2 separate regions of the Homo sapiens genome follow, and region 2 is linked to region 1. The links are contacts of gene promoters, found by promoter capture Hi-C in blood cells and fetal thymus (Javierre and others, 2016). All regions are on one chromosome and are shown on one strand. The core of a region is centred on a gene start or on the middle of the fragment in contact, and the rest is flanking DNA. Distances in the headings are between cores, read along the strand shown.

The links. Contacts are between HindIII fragments. The CHiCAGO score rates a contact against its expected background, and 5 or more counts as called.
Region 2: a contact is called between a fragment that was not itself captured here and the fragment with the promoter of PIK3C3 in region 1, in 2 of 17 cell types (non-activated CD4 T cells and monocytes). The highest score is 5.2, in non-activated CD4 T cells.

Annotation. Positions count from the first base shown.
Region 1 is chr18:41,953,811-41,957,003 of GRCh38, forward strand. It overlaps PIK3C3 (phosphatidylinositol 3-kinase catalytic subunit type 3), which reads left to right and starts at 1,424. Exons shown (of 25, transcript NM_002647.4): 1 at 1,424-1,549. The coding sequence starts at 1,482. RefSeq lists an enhancer at 1,202-1,381. The HindIII fragment of the contact is 3,603 bases long and covers 161-3,193 here.
Region 2 is chr18:42,003,695-42,006,664 of GRCh38, forward strand. It overlaps PIK3C3 (phosphatidylinositol 3-kinase catalytic subunit type 3), which reads left to right. Exons shown (of 25, transcript NM_002647.4): 10 at 662-847. Among named protein-coding and RNA genes, the nearest start is that of PIK3C3, 50 kb to the left of the region's middle. The HindIII fragment of the contact is 674 bases long and covers 1,263-1,936 here.

The DNA of each region.
Region 1 (3,193 bases), core at 174-2,673:
CGGATCACGAGGTCAGGAAATCGAGACCATCCTGGCTAACACGGTGAAACCCTGACTCTACTAAAAAATACAAAAAATTAGCCGCGCGTGACGGCGGGCACCTGAAGTCCCAGCTACTTGGGGGGCTGAGGCAGGAGAATGGCATGAACCTGGGAGGTGAAGCTTGCAGTGAGCCGAGATCGCGCCACTGCACTCCAGCCTGGGCAACAGAGAGACGGGCACTCCAGCCTGGGCAACAGAGCGACTCTGTCTCAAAAAAAAAAAAAAAAAAAAAAAAAGAAATGACATAGCAGTTTGGGAGGCCAGGGCAGGCAGATCACTGGAGGTTAGGAGTTTGAGACCCGACTGGCCAACATGGTGAAACCCCATCTCTATTAAAAATACAAAAATTAGCCTGACTGGGTGGCGGGTGCCTGTAATCCCAGCTACTTGGGAGGCTGATGCAGGAGAATCGCTTGAACCCAGGAGATGGAGGTTGCAGTGAGCCGAGATGGTGCCAGCCTGGGCGACAATAGCAAAACTCCATCTCAAAAAAAAAAAAAAAAAAGAAATAAAGGCATAGAAAATGGAGACTTTCATTCAATATCATCATTAATAACCAGTAAGTAGGAAGTATTAAACTCAGCAATGCATTAGACAGCTAGCGGGGCAAGACACGGAAGTAAATGGCACACTGGTCTTACCTTCCAAGAGTTTTCAATCTAATTGGAAGGGAGTATTACAATTTTAGATTATAATAATTATAAAAACAAACATTATAGGAGCTCAGAGGGTTTAGAGATCTGTGTTCTGTAGTTATTACAGGAGGCCTCTAGATTCTAACTTGGGTTAGGGCTTGAAACTACATTGAATTTGAATATTCCCAGTTTAAACATGCACGCAAGTATTATGTCCAAAGTAGCATGAATACTGACAACACCAAACATGAAACCCAGATTTATTTATTCTCTATTTAGTCCTTTCCCTACTCTTTAGAGCAGAAAGAGAAAATCCTTGCTTGAGATAGCAAATTAGTGCTACACTTTTTGGGAAGGCCACTGGAATTTAAACCTGGCAAAATTCCAATTTTTGTGCTTGTAACCTGTTTAGCCGGCAGCCAGTGAAAGCTGTTATAATTCTTTTTGAATTGAATTTTCTTTCGTATTGTTTTAGGTACAGCTCAAGCTCAAATGATAGCGTCTCTTTTTCTTTAAAAAAAAAAAAAAGTGCTGTCAAGACAGGAAAACTGGAATGTAACCAGATTAGCCGTTTCCCGTATACATTTGCCCTTAAGCAAGATGGTGGGCGCCTTGTGCACATGCGCGGAAGGGTTGTTTCGGCGGGGAGTTCCGCCGCGTCGGAACTCGCTCCGGGCGTGGATTGGCGGCTTGCTGGCGGGGGCGGAACCGGAAGTTCCGTGTTGTGGGGCTCAGCTGGTTCATTTATGTTGTTTTTCCTGTACCTAAGTTCCCGCTGTAGGTGGTACCTTTGCAGACGGTGCGATGGGGGAAGCAGAGAAGTTTCACTACATCTATAGTTGTGACCTGGATATCAACGTCCAGCTTAAGATGTAAGAGAACACTCGGGACAGGGAGTGGGATTGCTGGGGCGTAGGGACGTGGGGGCAGGGGCCTGTTGGGAGTGAGAGGCAGAAAGTACGTGACTCGTCTCAAGGCCCAGATTGGGGGCGGCTGTGAGGGCTGTAGCCAGGGAGGCGCGAGAGAGTGGATCGTGGAGAGGGGCTCTTTTGGAAAAGGATTTAATACGTGGTCTCCGTGAGAAGCACAGCAGTAGGAATAGCCCTTAAGTTCCGCTGTATTTTACAGTCTTTAAAGTTTTTGCTGTTCAGCCTTTTGAGAGTTTATTACTATTTCATTGTAAATTAAGAAATCAAGTCTCGTCGTAAGTAAGAGGACGATCTTTATTTTGGAACGGGGCTTGTAGGGTGGAATGAAGGCTTCAGAAATTATGGAGAGGTAGACACAGGCAGATGCGATAGTTGAGAATAAGATGAGCACATGGTGTATTAGCACGGGAGGTGATAGAGGCCTAGAGTGAATCTTTGGGTAGTATGGCAGTGTTTAGTCAGGGAAGTTGGGAGTAAGTCGAAGATGAGGGTTCCAGTTTCAAAGGTACCAAGAAGATAGGAGAAAAGAGTCTTTGCAGGAAAACGTTGGGGCACCACGGCTGAAGTAAAGGTCAAGGGCGTGATATCTTGAGATGAGGATAATAGAACTGGTATAATGACGAGGGATGCACAAGACAGAGTTGGAAATTATGTCCCTTTTAAGGTGGTCATGTAGGAGTGTTGTCAAAGCTATCACAAATTATTGACCATAGCATCATCCATAATTAATAAACATTTCTTGTGTATGTTCAATTAATATTCAACAAATATGTGTCGGTCAAAGGCCTGCAGTAAGTGATAGATAAATTTTCTCAGTTGTCTGATGTACCTTTGAATGATCATTTCATTTTATTTTCAGAAGTCCCTTATTCGCTGACAAATACTTTACTTTTTAGTTTGTGGTGGTGGTGGTAAAAGTAATATGTCAACAACCACCTTGTACCTTTGTATGATACTTTATACACTCATTTAAGGTATTTTCCATAGCATACACCACTAGTAGTTTATACAGGATCAATATTGATAAAGGGCTTTCCTTCAGCTTGATGCTCAGTATTTCTTGGATATATGAATGCATTTTTTGAAATGTTTGAACATTAAAAATAAAGAAAAAGCCAAAAAAACCGGTCCCTTTTTTTTTTTTTTTTTTTTTTGGAGACAGGGTCTCACTCTGTCTCCTTTCCCTTTGGGATGACGTTCTGCTTCTTTTGCTTCAACTCTCATGCATTGTTCAGGATCATTTCAGACATCTATCTGGGGTACTAAGTCCCTTCCCCATGCCAGCCTAAGTACTCTTGAGACTCTGATTTATCTTACTGTAATGGGAAGAATATTGGCTTTGGCCTCCCTGCCCTAGTGTTTATTCTCAGCTCTGTTACTTACGTTGTGACTGTGGATAAGGAGTTTAGTTTATAAGTCTCTGTTTCCTCATTTATAAAATGAGAATATGGTGAAAATTATGTAAGAAAGAAAATATAAAATGCCTGGCACAGTATCTGATGTAATCTTGATGTCTAAAAAATGTTCCTCCCTCTGTGATAGTATCCTGTGCATATCTATTTATGACTTATACCACTGTTTTAAAGA
Region 2 (2,970 bases), core at 350-2,849, 50 kb after region 1:
GAGTGAGGTTGCAGAAAGATGTACAACCAGCCAGATCATAGACTGTTTGCTGCTGTTTCTGTACTTACCCATTTTTATGCTTCTGTTTTGAGGTTTTGTTGGATTGCCTATCTTTTTAAGTAGTTACTTCACAGAGATACGTACATACTCCACATCGTTTGAGTCTTCATGTTTAAGTATCTGCGAAAGCCGGTGGTCATACTCTAGGGAGGTGATCGAGAGTGAGGCTATTGGGAATTTCTGCCCTAGCATGGCTTCCGGCCCTTCGCTCAGTGGTTGCAGTATTTTCTGTTGTAAAATATAGGTTTTCTCTAAGGCATCTTAGAGTTCGTGAGAAATGCCTCAACTATTTCCATGTCTTGAGCCCTGCAGTATTTTAAAATAACAATAGCAAAATGAAGAAAAGCCAAAACAAATTAAAAAATTCATAGTGCTCGCAAATGATTTGGCCTGGAAAATATAAAGATACAGGGAACATGCTTTTTTTCTGTCCTGCAGTGCTTCTATAAGATCATATATATAACTTCATTTAGTGCTTACACAAGGAGTCTATCACTGACTCCGTGGCTCTGTCATTAGGACCTAGTGGAACTCTGCCTAGTCAACTTCTCTATCCCAGGAAATAGGCTGTTTCTAATTTTTAAATATTTTCTGATTTTAGGCCTTGACAAAATTCTTGAAATGTGTTAATTGGGATCTACCTCAAGAGGCCAAACAGGCCTTGGAACTTCTGGGAAAATGGAAGCCGATGGATGTAGAGGACTCCTTGGAGCTGTTATCCTCTCATTACACCAACCCAACTGTGAGGCGTTATGCTGTTGCCCGGTTGCGACAGGCCGATGATGAGGTGCATTATTATTTATTATTCTGCTTCAATGGGTCATTTTAAACTAGAGCCTAATTATAAACTATGTGTGTATGTGTGTGTGAGAGTGAGAGAGAGAGTGTGTGCACATGCAAGAGAGATTTTTAGAAGGGAAGAGGATATACTAGGTGTATTTTCAGAAGGAAAATTAAAATATGCCTCAGAGGACTCCTCTGTGAAATGAAAATTTACTTCCTGATCTGTTACGTGGTAGGACAGTCTCTCCCAGGACATTTACCTGGCAGCAGAGCTTGTATTGCTCTGTCTGGAAGAAGGAATTCTAGTGAAAAATGGTTTAATGCAGCACCAGCTAGGGAATAATTCAGATCTCCTCTATCAGTCAGTATACAACAAGCCACATTTAATTGTAGCCTTGAAAAGCCCTTGGGGCCTTTAAAGCTTAGAGATGCATGGTCATCTTCCTCTCCTTCAAACTCGCCTTTTAAACTTTCAGCTGATGACAATTATATGTATATGTAGATTTTCTGAAGGGGTTTTGGATCCTTGGAAAGCAAAGATTGCCAACTATATGCTGGCTATTTATATACAGTTATTTATCAGTTAATGACAGGGAAGTGTTCTGAGAAATGTGTCCTTAGGGGATTTCATCTTTGTGCAGACATCATGGAGTATACTTACCCAAACCTAGATGGTAAAGCCTACTACACACTGAGGCTGTGTACTCCTAGGTTACAAACCTGTATAGCATGTTGTTGTACTAAATACCTTAGGCAGTTGTAACGCAATGCTAAGTATTTGTGTATCTAAACATAGAAAAGGTACAGTAAAAACAGAGTATTATAATCTTATGGGATTACTGTCATATATGTGGTCCTGTCTTGGCTGAAGCATTGTTATGTGGCACATGACTGTTCATGTAAGGCCATCAGGGAAGGAAGAACACTTTTTTGACAAAAAGCATTGCTGGATTTTGGGCTTTAATAATTCTTTATAGATAGACTAATCCAGCAACTTGTTTTCTTAATTTTTATAGGGTGAATATGTTCTTAAACATAACCTAATAGTTTATGCTAGCCAGCAGTACTTTATGGGATGTGGAGTAACTTCTCAAGCTTCAATATATATAGCAATGTCGATCGCATAGAACAACTATTATCAAATACCTTTTTAAGAGGGAGGGGACAGTGAGATCATTTTGAATTAGTGGTATCTGAATTTCAAGAAGCAAATTAAATATTTATTAAAGTTGATCATTGTATGTGTGTATTTAATTATGGTGAAATTTAAACACTAAAGTAAATAGTATAATGAACCCCAACAAATAATTCATCTGTCTTCAGCAGTTGCCAATTTATAACCAATCTTGTTTCATCTGTAACACTGCTCAGTCTCTCCACCCCAACCCCCTAACCTCTACTAGATTACATCCTTCTGACTTCTGGCCTACTGGCTTTAACAAATCAGGGGGCTCCCATAACCCTCTCCTTGGGTGTGATAATTTGCTAGAATGACTCACAAAACTCAGGGAAACATTACTTACTATTGATTTATTATGAAGGGTATCCTAAAGGATACAGAAGAACAGCTAGATGAAATGATAATTTGCCAGAATGACTCACAAAACTCAGGAAAACATTACTTACTACTATTGATTTATTATGAAGGGTATCCTAAAGGTTGCAGATGAACAGCTAGTTGAAATGACACATGGGTTGAGGTCCTGAGCACAGGAGCTTCTGTCCCCATGGAGTTTGCAGTATAGCACCCTCCTGGCATGTGGGTGCATTCTTCTTCACCAACCCAAAAGCTCTCAGAATGCTGTGCTTTTCTGAGAAAAGCAGAAAAAATCAGAGTTTTTGTGGAAGCGCCATTACATTGGCATGATTGATTAAATCATTGGCTGCTGGCCGATTAAGTCAATCTTCAGTTCTCTCTGTTCCCCAGAGGTTGAGAGGGTAGAGCTTAAAGTCCCACCCTCTAATCACATGGCTGGCTTTTCTCTCAGCCAACCCCCATCTTTAGGGGCTTTCCAAAAGTTACCTCATGAACATAAACTCAGGTGTGATTGAAAGGGGCTTGTTAGGAATAACAAAAAAAATTTCAATGCCAGCATGCTATATTTTGTCCTTTTTATTTTAGCATGT